2 separate regions of the Homo sapiens genome follow, and region 2 is linked to region 1. Evidence: promoter capture Hi-C in human tissues and cell types (Jung and others, 2019). All regions are on one chromosome and are shown on one strand. Each heading gives the region's core, a stretch centred on a gene start or on the middle of the fragment in contact. The rest is flanking DNA. Distances are from core to core; before and after follow the strand shown. Region 1 holds the start of GREB1L (GREB1 like retinoic acid receptor coactivator). Region 2 overlaps GREB1L (GREB1 like retinoic acid receptor coactivator).

Region 1 (7,657 bases), core at 1,323-3,822:
TCGGAATTTTGTTCTTGTTGCCCAGGCTGGGGGTGCAATGGCGCAATTTGGCTCACTCCAACCTCCGCCTCCAGGATTCAAGCGATTCTCCTGCCTCAGCCTCCCAAGTAGCTGAGAATACAGGTGTGTGCCACCAACACCTAGCTAATTTTGCATTTTTAGTAGAGATGGGGTTTCACCATGTTGGTCAGGCTGGTCTCGAACTCCTGACCTCAAGTGTTCCACCTGCCTTGGCCTCCAAAGGGCTGGGATTACAGGCGTGAGACACTGTACCCGGCTGGGAGTTTGTTATCTAATGAAGATGGCATTGAACTCTTTTCAATCTACCAGGATATATAGATTACTCTCACTTTTACCCTTGTTAGGGACTTGCCTTGTTTACTGACAAATCACCACTACTACTGATATATTGTGCCGTCTAACTCACATTAGGTGCTCAATATCTGTTGAATGGATGAAGAATGAATACCAGAGTCCTGTAATATTAGACTATGGTCCTTGAGTGACTGCCAGATTTGCTTTCACATTTCTAGGGTCTAGTGTACCTGGCACTCAACAAATGGTCCTTGCACTAAGAGAGAAAACTGCACTGGTGGTTTTACTTTAAAGCGGCTCCTTGTTCAGTGTCCTTATCTTTAAATTGGAAGGTGTTTTGCTTCTGCCCAACCCCCACACACTCTACAGACCTTGTGATGGGTTGAGTTTTTCAAAAGATTCTCACCTGCTTTAACTTCTATGAGCTTAGTTTATATTCACCAGGTGAACTTAAAATTTCAGTTTCTACAGCACTGTCTTTTCCACGTGTATGGCCAGTTCTCATGATGAGTTTACTAAGTGACTTTGGATTCTTTTAGCTATTGCTAATCATCTGCACCTTTCTGTTGTAGTTATTTTAAAGCCCGCCCGCGCGCGCGCGCGCACACACACACACACACACACACACACACACACTCTTGAGTCAGGGTCTCTGTCACCCAGGCTAAAAGCGCTGGGACTACAGACATGAGCCACCGCGTGGGGCCAAAAACATACGGATTTTATTTACTAAACCTGTATTGTGTGCATGACCCAGAATTGTGGGAGTACAGCAATGACTGAGAAAGCCGTGTTTCCCACCTTCGTGGCACATAACAATGTTTCTATGGGTTTTTAAAGGCCCAACAACAGGGATTCAATTATAAAATAAAAATATTTCGGTACAAAACATGATTTAAAAAAAGACAACTATGTCTTCCGAGTGGAGGAGGGAAAGGACAATCAAACCTCGAACAAATCGTTTATCTTGCTAGTCACAGCTTAGCTATGCCTTGTTATTTTCCGGTGATTCCAAACTTCCAGTCCATTCCCTCTGCATGGATCAAAAGTGACAGGAAAGAAAAAAATGTATTTCGGATATGGCAAAAAAGAAAAATGCAAGACAAGCAAACAAAAGTACTGGGACATCGTATGAGAACTAGTTTAATTGACAATGTCTTTAAATGGTACCTATCACTTGACAATGATTCCAACCCACCCGGGCCTGGGCGCCGCGGCTGCCTCCCCACTCCCACGCACACGGGGAGCTCCCCCGGGCTGTACTGCACTAAAGGCACTCAAAATACATCAGCCTTTCCTTACCTCGATTCTTCCACCACATCCAGCATGGAGCTGCTGCTTCCAGAGATGTAGTCGCCTATCTGTGGCAACAATTAGTTTTAAAAATGGAGCCGCATCTCTAATAACAAAAGCCTCCAGCTGTGAAAAGTGGAGCTAAATCTCTCTACCGGGCCGCAGCATCTCTCAAGAACCTTTTCCCCGCAGCACCCGTCAAGGCCCAGGGCCAGCTGGACGCGGCTGCCCTGGGGTGGAGCCGTCCCCGTGGTCCCGGGAGGCTACCGACGAGCCGGGGCCCGGGGCCGGAGGGCGTGCTCCTCCGGGAGGTGCAAAAGTCGGCTTGGGCCCGGAGCTCCCGGGTTTGTTTGGTTTTGTCCGCGCCCTGCCCCCACCCTACCCCCTTCATGCAAAAGGCCAAGGGTTTCCGAGCCACCACTGCCCAGGCCGAGTTCACGCTTGGGGCTCTTCAGCCGCCGTCCAGTGAACAGAGAAAGCAATTGCGCAGAGGCGAGAGCAGGCTGAATGAACGCGGGCTCCAGGGGAAATAATTTTTCCTCCTGGCTTCGCGCGTCAGCACACTGGGGTGCAGCCCTCCCTCACAGAAGACCCCCCCCCCGCACGACCCCCTGTACACCCCCGCGGGGCTGCGCGTTCGTCTGTGCGGCGGGGTTTGGGAATGGAGGCGTGAGGACCGCGCATCGAGGGCTCCACAGGCTGGGCGGGGGGCGTCGTTGGAGGGGGGTAGGGGAGAAATGCGCGCCCACCACCCTCACAGAGGGCGAGGGACCCCCAAAAGCCACTCGCGGACGCCGAGGCAGCGGGAAGGCGCGAGGCGGGGCGGGGGGAGGGGGCGCGGGGGTCCCCGCTGCGGAGGCCAGGGCGGGCGGGAGGGGCAGCACCTGAGGAATCCGCCTCCGGCTGCGGCGGCCGCCGCCTCGCTCCGCCCCGGGGAACTGAGCGCGCGGACCGCGCGCCTGCCAGAGAGACGCCAGCCGCCGGCGGCGCTAGCACCTCGGAGTCGGGCGGCCGGAGCAGCGGAGCGCAGCGCGGCGCAGGGAACGGCACTGGGGGTGGGGAGACCAGCCCGGCCGAGCCGAGGGCCACCCCCTGGTCCTCTGCCCTCGCGCCCCGCTAGGGCCAGGTGAGCGGCCGCGGGGACTCCGGGGCGCGGGCAGGAGGTGAGAGGTCGCGAACCGGGCGCGGGAGCTCGCCTGTGACCGGCAGGAGCTGCCCTTTGGCGGGCTGGACGCCCTGGCCGCGCGGGGAAGCGCCGCAGCGGACTTTTCCGGAGGGATGGGAAGCTCAGCGGGGGTGTGAGCGGAGCGCGTGCGGGTGGCGAGGGAGCGCCAGTGCCAACCTGGGAGCCGTGCCTGCCTTCCCTGCCGCCTCGCGTCGCCCACCGAAGGGACCCGGCCGTGCTGTCCGCGCCCAGAGGCCGAAGGCCTGTCACCGGGCTCTACTCGCTGCCTTTGTGGCGGGAGCGAGACGGCCCGGGGGTGGGACGAGGGAGCTGCGGCGCGCCGAGTAGCGCGGGGTCCCCCGGCGGAGGCGGCGAGGGGGCACCTGGTTCGTCTCCCCGAGCCCAGGGGCAGTGAGGGGGTGCCGGGCAGGCGGGCGGGCGACAGGTAGGGCGCCGCGGAGGTGGCGGGGAGAGGATGGATGGAGTTCAGCCTGGGAAAGTTGAGAACGTCCAGAGGTGGCTGGGCGCTCGCTCGGCGTCTGTGGGTTTTTTTCCTCAACACCAAATGTCACTTCGTCACGAGCGGGCGCGCGTGTCTTCCGGCCAGCATGTCCATTTTTCTGTGCATGGCTGAGGACCACTCTTATTCCGAATGAGACACAAAGAGTTGTGTTGACAGCTGACCCTGACACAAGCAGACAGCGAGTGAGGTGCGCCCTGGCCGGGGAGGGTGAGGGAGACTCGTTAAAGGAAATCCATTCCCGCCGTCCCTCTTCCCAGCTCCATTAAGAGGAAACTCCATGTGGAGATTCAGTGCGTGGGGTTTCTCAGTTACATGAGTCCAAGGAACGTCCCCGAACGCGACTCGTTTGCCCGGAACTGCCGCTGCCTCTAACCGAGGCTGCGGGTCCTGGAGAAACTCCTCAGTCTTGCCCCTTTCTCCGGTGAACGTGACGGTTCCAAGGTCCTTATCCTCCCCACCCACTCCTCTGGCCCCGGCTGAGAGGATAGAAACCACATTTTAATTTCTGCTTTTCACACCGTAAGGTGTTTTTTTCCGCCTCCCCCCGCCTCGAGGCGGGAATCCCTGCTTAAATCACATTTTTAAACCTAGCCGTTTAAATACAGGGAAGAGCTTTCCCACAAAAGGTTTTTGAACTCAGTCCCCCTTAATAAAACCTCTCATTCATCTATATATGTTCTTAGACTTTAAATCCTGGAACTCTGCTTTGAGTGTTGTGACTGTGTTGTTTCTTCTCTTTGCTGAAATTTTCTAGGAGGTTTTGTGAATGATACTGAAAAATTATTTAAAAGAGAAAAAATTAAATTGTTGAAATATTTAGTAATACAGTTACATGCATATAGGTATGTATTTCAAGAGGAAAATGTTTAATGAATGAATATATAAGTAGGGTAAACATTTCAAACAACAGTGAAGAGTATACAGTGTAAATTAAGCCCTCTTTCCTCTCCTCCATACAAGCCTTCATCCTTCTCAGAGGCAGCCACTGTTGTATATTTTTTGTATATCTTTCCGTAAGTCTATTAAAATGGAATTACATTATAGATGATGAAAGGGATTGAATATAAGACTGAACTATATATTCGTGGTGATGACCATTAACTTGATACCCACTCATGATGACATGAGATTATTTAGCCAAATGTGGACAATTATTACCTTGAAGATCAGTTAGAGGGCTAAAAATCTTAGAACAGTATGCAGTGGAAAGCAAAACTATTAAACTAATATCTCCTCCTGCACACACACCAGTTTCCCTACACTGGTTTTTGCAATCTTTATTGAATTTTTCCTCCATTTTGGAATTCTTTATGAAGTAGAGAATGAGAACTGTAGTAGTTTACTTTGTCTACCGCAGTGTGTATCTGAAAACACTGAAAGGGCGTGTGTATACTCCCATTGACATGACATAATATAAAGATGTTAGTGGTAAAGGATAAATACGAAGGCCGAGTTTCAGATGTTTGGTTGCATCTCTTAATTCTAGGCCTGGATTTGCCACAAACCCGCCACACGACGTAACTTTTTTTTGGAAAACTTTGTTTCCCACTCAGTTAGATAAAGGAATTGAACTATGTGATTTTTAAGGGTCCTTCGAACTCCAGAGTTCTACGATTAAAATAGTTGTCCTAAAACTGGCTAAAGATAACCATTGGACTGTGGATGTTAGACAGTGGGGCGACAAAAAACATTCCTGAATGGTGGATTCATGAAGAGGAGGTTAGAGATGTTTAAACTATATCCCTGCTCTTACGAGTTTGATGTCATTGGAGAACAGCTACTCTCCTTACCCACAGAATGTGTGTTTATGTTGCTGATAGAGGCCAAACACCGGGCTGAGGGCCTCTCATGTCACCTTGTGTGGCTAAGGAGAGTGAATTCTCCTCGCAGCCCACAGTGTCATTTTTAGGAAAATTACTCTTACCAAACTCTTCTTTTTGGTAAAGTGGAAATTAACTTTACCTACTTGAAAGAGACTTGACATAATTTAATTTATACTTCTCTGAAGTGTTTAGATTATGAACATCCCTTATAGCTAAGATATTTTAGTTACTTGATAAATATTCACCTAGGGAGTATGTTCTTATTAGGAAACTTCTAATTTGTAAAGTACCTGCAGCCTTTGGGCTAATGATGGGGACAGGAGTTAAGGAGTGATTGTAAGGTTGTGAAAGTAAAAATTAGCTGATTTTAGTGACTGCGTATGGTCTAAATTAAGGGATTTCAAAGGTACACTGTAAGCGATGATTGCAAAAAGTGTTGATGTTAAGATAGAGATCTCATACTGAAAGCTAAAGCTTTCTAAAAGCACCGCTGATGAAACATATGTAATTATTTTGAATAAGTCTAATATAAATTATAAATTCGCTGTAGGAATTGTTTGGGATCCTAAGAATAAGAACTAGAAGAATATATTTGTAAGGGTACTTAGAGTAATATTGATTGATTAATGAAGCTGACAGAAACAAAAGAAAATTCAATACCAGTAGTGAAATTCTTCAAAATGGTAATGGTTTTTATTTTTTCCAGCTCCCTTCCCAATCTTGCCATATGAATGAATATTTTTACAAATGTTTTATATTGCAGATAATTTTCACCCTGTTTTTTATAAACATTTTTTCTATAGCTTACTTCCCATTATTTACAATAATTTTATAAAAGTTTATGCAATGGATGTTCATTATTAACTTAAGCCTTCCTGTTTTTGATTTTGCAGCATAAAAAATGTAATGCCTATTCTTTTTTTGTTTTGTTTTGTTTTGTTTTGTTTTGTTTTGTTTGAGACGAAGTCTTGCTTTGCCACCCAGGCTGGAGTGCAGTGGTGCGATCTCCACTCACTGCAAGCTCCGCCTTCCGGGTTCACGCCATTCTCCTGCCTCAGCCTCCCTAGCAGCTGTGACTACAGGCGCCTGCCACCACGCCTGGCTAATTTTTTGTATTTTTAGTAGAGATGGGGTTTCACTGTGTTGCAGGATGGTCTCGATCTCATCGATCTCGACCTCGTGATCTGCCCGCCTCAGCCTCCCAAAGTGCTGGGATTACAGGCGTGAGCCACCATGCCTGGCCTATAATGCCTATTCTTATACATGTAACTTTATTTCTTTTCTTTTCTTCTTTTTCCCTTAACTTCCTTAGGATCTTTTTTTTCTTGAGGGATAGTATAATGTAGTTGTAAATGGGTGGGTTCTAAAATTAGAGGTTGTGGGTTTAAACCTAGCTCTAGTACTCATTGGCAATATTGGACAAGTAATTTATTTTCTCAGAACTTTAGCTTACTAAGATGTAAAATGGGTTATATTAATAGTTCTTTAAAGTTAAGATAAAAAGCAATAACACATGAAACACATAAATGTTAGCTCTTATTTTTATTAGGAAATTTCTAGATTTACAGTAATTTCCACATTACTTTCTAAAAGGACTATATAAATTTATACTGTCATTAACAATCTATGTGTGTGCTTATGTTATCTTAAAACATATTATTGTTACTAATTTAATCAGTGTAACATTTTATACCTTTCTTTTGCTTTGCATTTCTTTAGTCTTATACAAAGTGAGGGATAGTTTTTTCCGCCATATTGCTATAGTTTTCCAAACTGAGTGATGGAAATTTCATTACCTCAGTCATTTTGAGCTGTACCATAAGCTAGACATATAGGGGTGGTCAGTTACACCACTAATGAATAGTGAACCAAATTTTCCAATAGACTTTTTTCAAACTAATTGTAGTTTTCTTGTATTTTCAGTCTATGGTAATATTTATTAGCTATTATTATTATTTAACTCTTAGAAAAGTAGCTGTTAACTAAGATATAAACGATATTTAAGTGAAAATGCAATCTTCCTTGAAGAGCTGATTTGTGGTTAGTATTGTGATCACAGTTTGCTGGAATTTTACTAGGAATGCTTCTCAAAACTTGAGGAAAAATCAGAGAGAAAATTTATGATCTCCAATCATGTTATCTTTTGGCTACAAATGGATAATGAAGTTATGCCCACTGACTTGAGTTCTTATATAGTCAAGGTAATTTAGACTACAAAAAGCATGCCCTTGTGAGTTCTGGAGTTCCAGCATCCCTGATATTTTTGGCAAATATACACCCAACATGGATAACAGCAGCTCTTTGTGCTGTTGAGCCCCAGGAGGGCTCCCTATTGTGTACACTTTCTTCCCTCCCATTCTTGACTGGTGACAGCAACTCCTTCAAGTCCAGATGTGGAGTCCCACAGTGACTCTTCTCTTCTACCCAACTCTGTATTTGCCCCTACCACCCCACCCTTCAGTGCAGTTGTTTTTGACCTGCCTATGATGTAGAGAATTCACTATCTTTTCAAGGTTGTGGTTTCAGATTTTATTTTTA
Region 2 (7,657 bases), core at 3,511-6,010, 250 kb after region 1:
TTTTCCCTCTTTTCTCCCCTGTCCACCACAGGCAAGGACCCTAAGATGATTCAGTAAAAACTAAACTTTACTATGAGAGATTTGAAGTATACACTGGAAGAAATTAAAGAGCAATCAGATAATTGAGGTGAATTCAGTTCTTGGGGCTCCTCCTCCAGTCCCTGGCCTTAGGGATTAAGGAACATAACTGCTGTCTTTTCTTCCCTTTTCTAAAAAAAGAAAAAAAAAATCCCCATTTTCAGATTAAACTCTGAAAGAGTTTTTTTCCCTCTGTGACCTTGAATCATAGATTCAGAGGTAGGTAGAGACATTAGAATTTACCTAACCTAATAAAGGTCCCTTTCTGCCCTCCACAATATTCTGTTTGATCATCCAATGTTGGGGCGATTGGGCTTTATTTTATGGGGCAAATTCTAATTTTTAGTAGCTATAGTTCTTAGAATGGCTTTAATTGATCATATTATTTAACAGCTATTTAACAAACCTGTCCATAATTTTGCTAAGAAAAAAGAAAAGGAAATTAAAATGAGGACCTATGGATGCATCCTATTCAGTAGATTATAATACTGCATCCGGAAAGAGCACAGGCTCAAGTACGGTTTGATATTTTTGCAGCTGTTGGATTTGGAAAGTCTTAACTGACACTGTGACATTAATCCTTTCACAGCACATGTAGTCTTAATTTTCCAAAATCATTCCATGAGTACCCCCTTTAAGCATTCCTACCCACCTGTTACATCCACCAGCTTGAAATGCATCTTCTTTTTCTGGTAACATCATTCAGAGTTTCCTAACTTTTATTTTAAATGATGATCTCATCAACTTTCTATTGTAGTTTTGTGCTACAAAAGTTGTAAGTATAGTTTAATGCAAGCATGACAGATTGGAGAAACTGTGCACTTCTGACTTCATGATTCTTCCAGAGTATGAAACAGAAATGCCAGATATCAAAGTTACCATTTATTCTAACTTTGGCTTTTCTACGTGGCCCAGCAAAAAGCATTAAGCTTGAAACATAGATTATCTATACTTATTTCCTCCAACCCAGTCACCCCAGCCTAATAGTAGCTATGACTTACTGAATACCTGAAGGGACCAGCCCAGGATTTATTGAACTGAAGGATTTCTTCATTTCTACCCAGCCAGCTAAATCCTTGCAATGTGTGAAGACCTTGCTAGAGGCTGGATAAAATCTAGAGCTAGCTTTGTCTCTGATCAGTTGTATGAACTGGGACAAGCAGCTGAACTTCTCTCTGCCCCTGAACTCATTCTCTTTCTATGAAAAGGCAGAGTGGGCTGGGCGCGGTGGCTCATGCCTGTAATCCCACCACTTTGGGAGGCCAAGGTGGGTGGATCACCTGAGGTCAGGAGTTCGAGACCAGCCTGGCCAACGTGGTAAAACCCTGTCTCTACTAAAAATACAAAAAAAAAAAAAAATTAGCCAGGCGTGGTGGCGGGCACCTGTAATCCCAGGTACTTGGGAGGTTGAGGCAGGAGAATCACTTGAACCTGGGAGGCGGAGGTTGCAGTGAGCTGAGATTGCGCCATTGCACTCCAGTCCGAGCGACAGAGTGAGACTCCATCTCAAAAAAAAAAAAGACCGGGTGCAGTGGCTTACACCTGTAATCCCAGCACTTTGGGAGGCTGAGGTGGGCGGATCACCTGAGGTCAGGAGTTTGAGACCAGCCTGATCAACATGGAGAAACCCTGTCTCTACTAAAAATACAAAATTAGCTGGGCGCATGCCTGTAATCCCAGCTACTCAGGAGGCTGAGGCAGGAGAATTGCTTGAACCCGGGAAGCGAAGGTTGCAGTGAGCCAAGATTGCACTACTGCACTCCAGCCTGGGTGACAGAGCGGGACTCTGTCTCGAAAAAAGAAAAAGAAAAGGCAGAGTTGTTCATATACAGGGCATCTTGGTCCTTTCCAGTTCTAAAACACCTCAAAAGTGTTCATGTGTTATTCATTTGATAGCTGTCATTGGCATTTCTTTGACCTGGAGGTTTTCTGTGCAAGGCCAGTGGACCACTTGTTGTATTTTAAGTAGAATTATAGAATGGAACAAAGGTGAAATCCCCCATTAGCCTACCCAGCTGCTGGTGGCTGCATTGCTACCAAATGGCAACCAGAAAGAAAGTGCACAGCCCCAGCCTTATTCTACCAGGCTCCATGAGAGCATTGGCCAACCTTGGACCCAGAGCCCACTTTGCCAGCACCTACTTTCTTTCTTTTTCTCTTTTTTATATTTTTAAGACAGACTCTCACTCCGTCGCCCAGGCTGGAGTGCAATGGCATGATCTCGGCTCACTGTAACCTCCACCTCCCAGGTTCAAGTGATTGTCCTGCCTCAGCCTCCCAAGTAGCTGGGATTACAGGCGCCCGCCACCACACCCAGCTAATTTTTATATTTTTAGTAGAGATGGGGTTTCACCATGTTGGCTAGGCTGGTCTCGAACTCCTGATCTCAAGTGATCCACCCACCTCGTCCTCCCAAAGTGCTGGGATTATAGGCATGAGCCACCGCGCCCAGCCTACTTTCTTTTTTAAAAAATTTTATTTTTATTCAGCAGCAGAAGTACTGCTGGGCAGTGTGCTCAGGGTAGCCAAGCACCTGCTTTCTTGACTAGCAGCTCTTCATGCCTGTAACTGGGTCCTCTTTGCCCATTCGTACTCATTTTGTCATCAGGCCTGGCTGAGGCGTAGCACCAAAAGGAGAGATTTGTTTTCTACCTCCTATAATTGTAAAAACTGCCGATTTTAACAAAGGGATCCTCTTCCCTGGCAGTCCAGGCTTAGGGGAAAATGGTACCAAAGGCTGCTGCTGCTACCAGGCTCAGATTTGCTTGGCTCCCTTGACGGAGCCAGGTCTCAGGTGATGAGGCTACAACACTAGGGGGTGCTATTTCTCCAGTCAGCTCCAAGTTTCTCCAGCACCAAGGAACAGTTTATGGAAAGATAGAAATTGCTATCTGTGAGGCTGACCTCAGATTAGTAGTAATAATTACCCTTTTTATGTCTAATACTCGACAGATATTACATTAATGCCTCAGTTTCCTGTATTGTAATCTTATATATCAGAGAAATAAGTGGACAGTGCTGCCATTCTAACCCAATACCACCAGCAAGAGGTGAGGATCCAGGAATTATCCATGATGACTATGCTGGCAATGAATGGAATAGACCAGCGTGTCTCAGAATTTAACGTGCATGCAATTCCCTGGGAGTCTTGTTAAGCTTCAGATTCTGATTAGTAGGTCTGGGGTGGGGAGATTGAGCATTTCTAACAAGCTCCCAGGTGCTGCTGCTGCTGGTGGTCTGTAGACCATACTTTGAGAAGAGGTTTCTAGACAATCTCTAAACCCCTTTACTGTGCTGTACTTATCCCAACAGGTTGATTCACATGCTTTGGAAGCTCAACCTTTTCCTTCCAGTGATGTAGGATCCCAGGTCATTCTAGAACTAAAGCCCCACCACACTGATCAGTAGCCCCTTCCCCACCATGCTTAATCTGCATTCTTACTGCACAGGCCTTGCTGCTCCCAGCTGGCCCTGCTGCCTGAGTGCTAGTGCCTTGTTTTCTGTTGAAGGTACCCCAGGCTGCACAGCATGGTCGTCCGCTGCTATCTTCTCATCCAGCAGTACTCTGAGGCCCTGATGGCTCTCACCACCATGGCGTCACTCCGCGACCACAGCACACCAGAAACACTCAGCATTATGGATGACCTCATCAGCTCCCCAGGCAAAAACAAAAGTGGGAGGGGACACATGCTCATTATCAGGGTGCCCTCGGTGCAGCTGGCGATGTTAGCCAAGGAGCGGCTACAGGAGGTGCGCGACAAACTGGGTCTGCAGTATCGGTTTGAGATCATCCTTGGGAACCCGGCCACCGAACTCAGTGTTGCAACTCACTTTGTGGCGCGATTAAAGGTTAGCAATGGACAGACATTTCTCCTTTAAAATACCATTTGTTTCTCTTTTCTAGGAATCCTACATAGGTGGCTCAGGGGCCTGAGTTTAATAGAATCACATGTGTGATTCCATGACAATGATAAGGCTAAATTAAGGGACATATTCACTTTCTTAATTAGAACCAGTTTGTAAAGATTGCCCAGCCCTTTATAGCATGCAGTTAGTGCATGCAGTTGGTCTTCCATGCTCTCCAACTGCAGGTGCAAAAAAATGAGATGACCCAATTTGACCCCATGTTTATTGGCCTTGTTCAAGATGCATGTAGCCCATGGCCATCTGTTTTCTGAGAAAAAAAGGTAAGTTATCCTCTCAGACCTCTGTGGGGTAATGTTTTAAGTATCCTCAACTCACTAATTCTTTTCTGTTCATCTAGCCTCTCTGTGAGCTCATGTCTAGAGTCGGTAAAGTATTCTGTTTCATCTTCAGTACTCAGAACTGTTCCTAGCCCTCTTGCATGTGGATTCCTCAGCAGTTTGTTGTTTCTTTTTACTTGCTTTGACCCTCAGCCCCAAGGCTTTGGCTGGACTGAGACTTTGCCAGGCGCCCTACAGAAGAATTTAGTGCATGACTGAGTCCCTCACTGCTCCCTCTGCACGGCCAGTGATTGACTGCTTCTCCCCTTCCTCTCCTGTCAAGCATCAGGGTGGGAGGAGTAGAACCCTCAGCCAACTAACCTAACTCCCTACCTTATGCCTGACTCGGTTTTTCTGGGCCTGTAATCCAGTGGGGCCTAGCCATTAGAAAGCATTTAATCAAATATCCACCTACATGTCGGTATGGAACTGAGCTAGCTACTGTATGTCTGAGTTAGACCAACTTGTTTCTGCGCCCTATACATTAAATGCTGAGCTAAATTGGGTTAAGGAAAATCTGGTTCAGCACAAATTTTATGAAAAGAAGGCACATAGTCATGGGGGAATTTGCATTTTCACCCTGGGCTGCGGTTTCCCATCTGCAAAATGAGAGAATTGGGTTGTATAATCTCTAAGAGTTCTAATTTGGGGATGATTATTTAGTGTTCAAAAATTGTTCTGGGCTGGGCGCAGTGGCTCATGCCTGTAATCCCAGCACTTTGGGAGGCTGAGGCAGACAGATCAGGAGGTCAGGAGATCAAGACCATCCTGGCTAACATGGTGAAACCCCGTTTTTACTAAAAATACAAAAAAAAAATTAGCCAGGTGTGGTGGCGGGTGCCTGTATTCCCAGCTACTCAGGAGGCTGAGGCAGGAGAATGGTGTGAACCCAGGAGGCGGAGCTTGCAGTGAGCCAAGATCGCACCACTGCACTCCAGCCTGGGCGACAGAGCGAGACTCTGTCTCAAAAAAAAAAAAAAATTGTTCTGGAGATGTAAATCTTCTTCTTGTGTTCAGTTAGCTAACCTAAATTGAATAATCCAAAATGCAGACAAAATATCTTGTATTAGCTTAATAAGCAATTGGAACAAATAAAATTGTCCAAAAAATAGAAACTCCTAAATTTAGAAGTTGTAACATTTATGTTTCATATATAGATACACGTTCACAATTTTATGTTATAGTCATAGACTACATTACAGTGGAATTCCTAGGATGAATAACAAAACTCCGGAAACGCTTCTTACAGTATAATTCATGGAGACATGAATTACGGGCTTGAGACCATTTGAATATTGCTAATGATGAAGAATTTGGAGGCTGGGCACGGTAGCTCATGCCTGTAATCCCAGCACTTTGGGAGGCCGAGGCGGGCGGATCACAAGGTCAGGAGATCAAGACCACCCTGGCTAACACGGTGAAACCCTGTCTCTACTAAAAATACAAAAAATTAGCCAGGCATGGTGGCGGGCGCCTGTGGTCCCAGCTACTCGGGAGGCTGAGGCAGGAGAATGGCGTGAACCCGGGAGGCGGAGCTTGTAGTGAGCCGAGATTGTGCCACTACACTCCAGCCTGGGCGACAGAGCAAGACTCTGTCTCAAAAAAAAAAGAAAGAAAAAGAAAAAGAATTTGGAAAGGCGGACAATCAGCAGCACCATGCTAAGTCTCCCACATCTGTTGCCAGAGATGACCTAAATGCACGTGAGGCTGCTGGGTCTTCTCCTGGTCTCTGTTGACACTGATTAAGTGAAGCTACTTAGAGAGTCTTAATCATGTGTTCAGAAGGGCCAGTCACTAAGTCAGTATAAATCAGTCTGTCCTAAATAATTTACCCCTCTGGACCACTGTTGGAAAACCACAGTCAAGGCCTGAGGTTCTTCACCTGGCTGCTAGCTCATCAGAATCACCTGCAGGGCTTTCAGAGGCACATTAGTTGACAATCACTGTGCCCTAAACGAAGGGGGCCTCAAGTTACGACTTCTCAAGGCAGTGACATCTTCCTCAATTGGTATGAGTAGCTGCCAGGCAACAAGTACGTATAAGAGTGTCCCATATTCTGGCTGCTGTGATGGCTCATGCCTGTAGTCCCAGCTACTTGGGAGCCTGAGGCAGGAGGTTTGCTTGAGCCCAGGAGTTTGAGGCTGCAGTGAGCTATGATCCCACCACTGCACTCCAGCCTGTGCAACAGAGTGAGACCCTGTCTCTTAAAAATATATAAAAATAAACAAGTCCCAAATTCTCAAAATCACTGGATCACATCAGTCCTTTTTATACTCTGTATTTGTGTGGGAGTAAAAATATGAGATCATGTTGGGATGTTCACATCGTAAGCAAGACTGAATTGTCAAGTAGATTGCGGCTCACTCATTTATTTCTAAGTTATCAACCTCCTTCACCATTTTCAGGATGGCAAGATTGTGCCTTCTATCTCTACTTTTGGGTAAAATCCAACACTACTTCTATTATGTGATCTTATTTTTGTGCTTACCCCTAATTATCCTGTTATGTATTGTGGTTAACTTATACTGATGATGACCCCTTTGGAAGGATACAAAGTTTAAGTCAGTTCCTCCAGAAGGCAGGTGAAGCTTTCATTAGATGTCCTTGTTCTTAAGCCTTGTATTATCCTTGAACTCAATGATCACCCCATCTTTTGTGTTAAGTGCTTCTGCAATGTCATCTTGAGGGCCTGATTGATGCACAGGAGAACTGCAGCCATCAGTCATCAGAAGGAGCAATGTGATGGAAAAGCATTTTATAGTGGGTTTGGCTAGCTGTGGTTGGTCAAGAGTAAAAGTGAGATTTGACTACTAATCTGAAAATAAACATCCTCATATAGGCCAGGTGCAGTGGCTCACGCCTATAATCCCAGCACTTTGGGAGACTGAGGCGGGCAGTCGCTTGAGGTCAGGAGTTCAAGACCAGCCTGGCCAATATGGCGAAACCCCATCTCTACTAAAAATACAAAAATTAGCCAGGTGTGGTGGTGGGTGCCTGTAATCGCAGCTACTCAGGAGGCTGAGGCAGGAGATTCGCTTGAACCCGGGAGGTGGAGGTCGCCATGAGCCAAGATTGCACCACTGTACTCCAGCCTGGGTGACAGAGTGAGACCCTGTCTCAAAAAAAAAAAAAAAAAAAAAAAAAAAAGTCCTCATACAGTAAAACATTTTAACTCTTATTCCATCAATATAAACCTGACCTCTTCCTGGTAAAGCTATGACCTCTATAGAGACAGTTCTGGGAGATAAAACACATTCAGGGAGAAACCCAGTGTCAGGGATACCATGCGTCCAGTGTGAATGTGATCAGTAAAGTGATTTCTATTCCAGAATGGT

Evidence for each region. The method cuts DNA at HindIII sites, captures the fragments that hold promoters and counts their contacts. A contact is called where the count stands out against the background at its distance.
Region 2: a fragment that was not itself captured here is called in contact with the fragment with the promoter of GREB1L in region 1 in 1 of the 25 tissues and cell types used here (IMR-90 fibroblasts).

Annotation. Positions count from the first base shown.
Region 1 is chr18:21,239,660-21,247,316 of GRCh38, forward strand. GREB1L (GREB1 like retinoic acid receptor coactivator) reads left to right here and starts at 2,573. Exons shown (of 33, transcript NM_001142966.3): 1 at 2,573-2,734. GREB1L-DT (GREB1L divergent transcript) reads right to left here and starts at 3,069. Exons shown (of 3, transcript NR_183513.1): 1 at 2,951-3,069; 2 at 1,618-1,676; 3 at 1,016-1,348. The HindIII fragment of the contact is 24,686 bases long and covers 1-7,657 here.
Region 2 is chr18:21,486,425-21,494,081 of GRCh38, forward strand. It overlaps GREB1L (GREB1 like retinoic acid receptor coactivator), which reads left to right. Exons shown (of 33, transcript NM_001142966.3): 19 at 3,588-3,927. Among named protein-coding and RNA genes, the nearest start is that of GREB1L-AS1, 39 kb to the left of the region's middle. The HindIII fragment of the contact is 5,281 bases long and covers 2,121-7,401 here.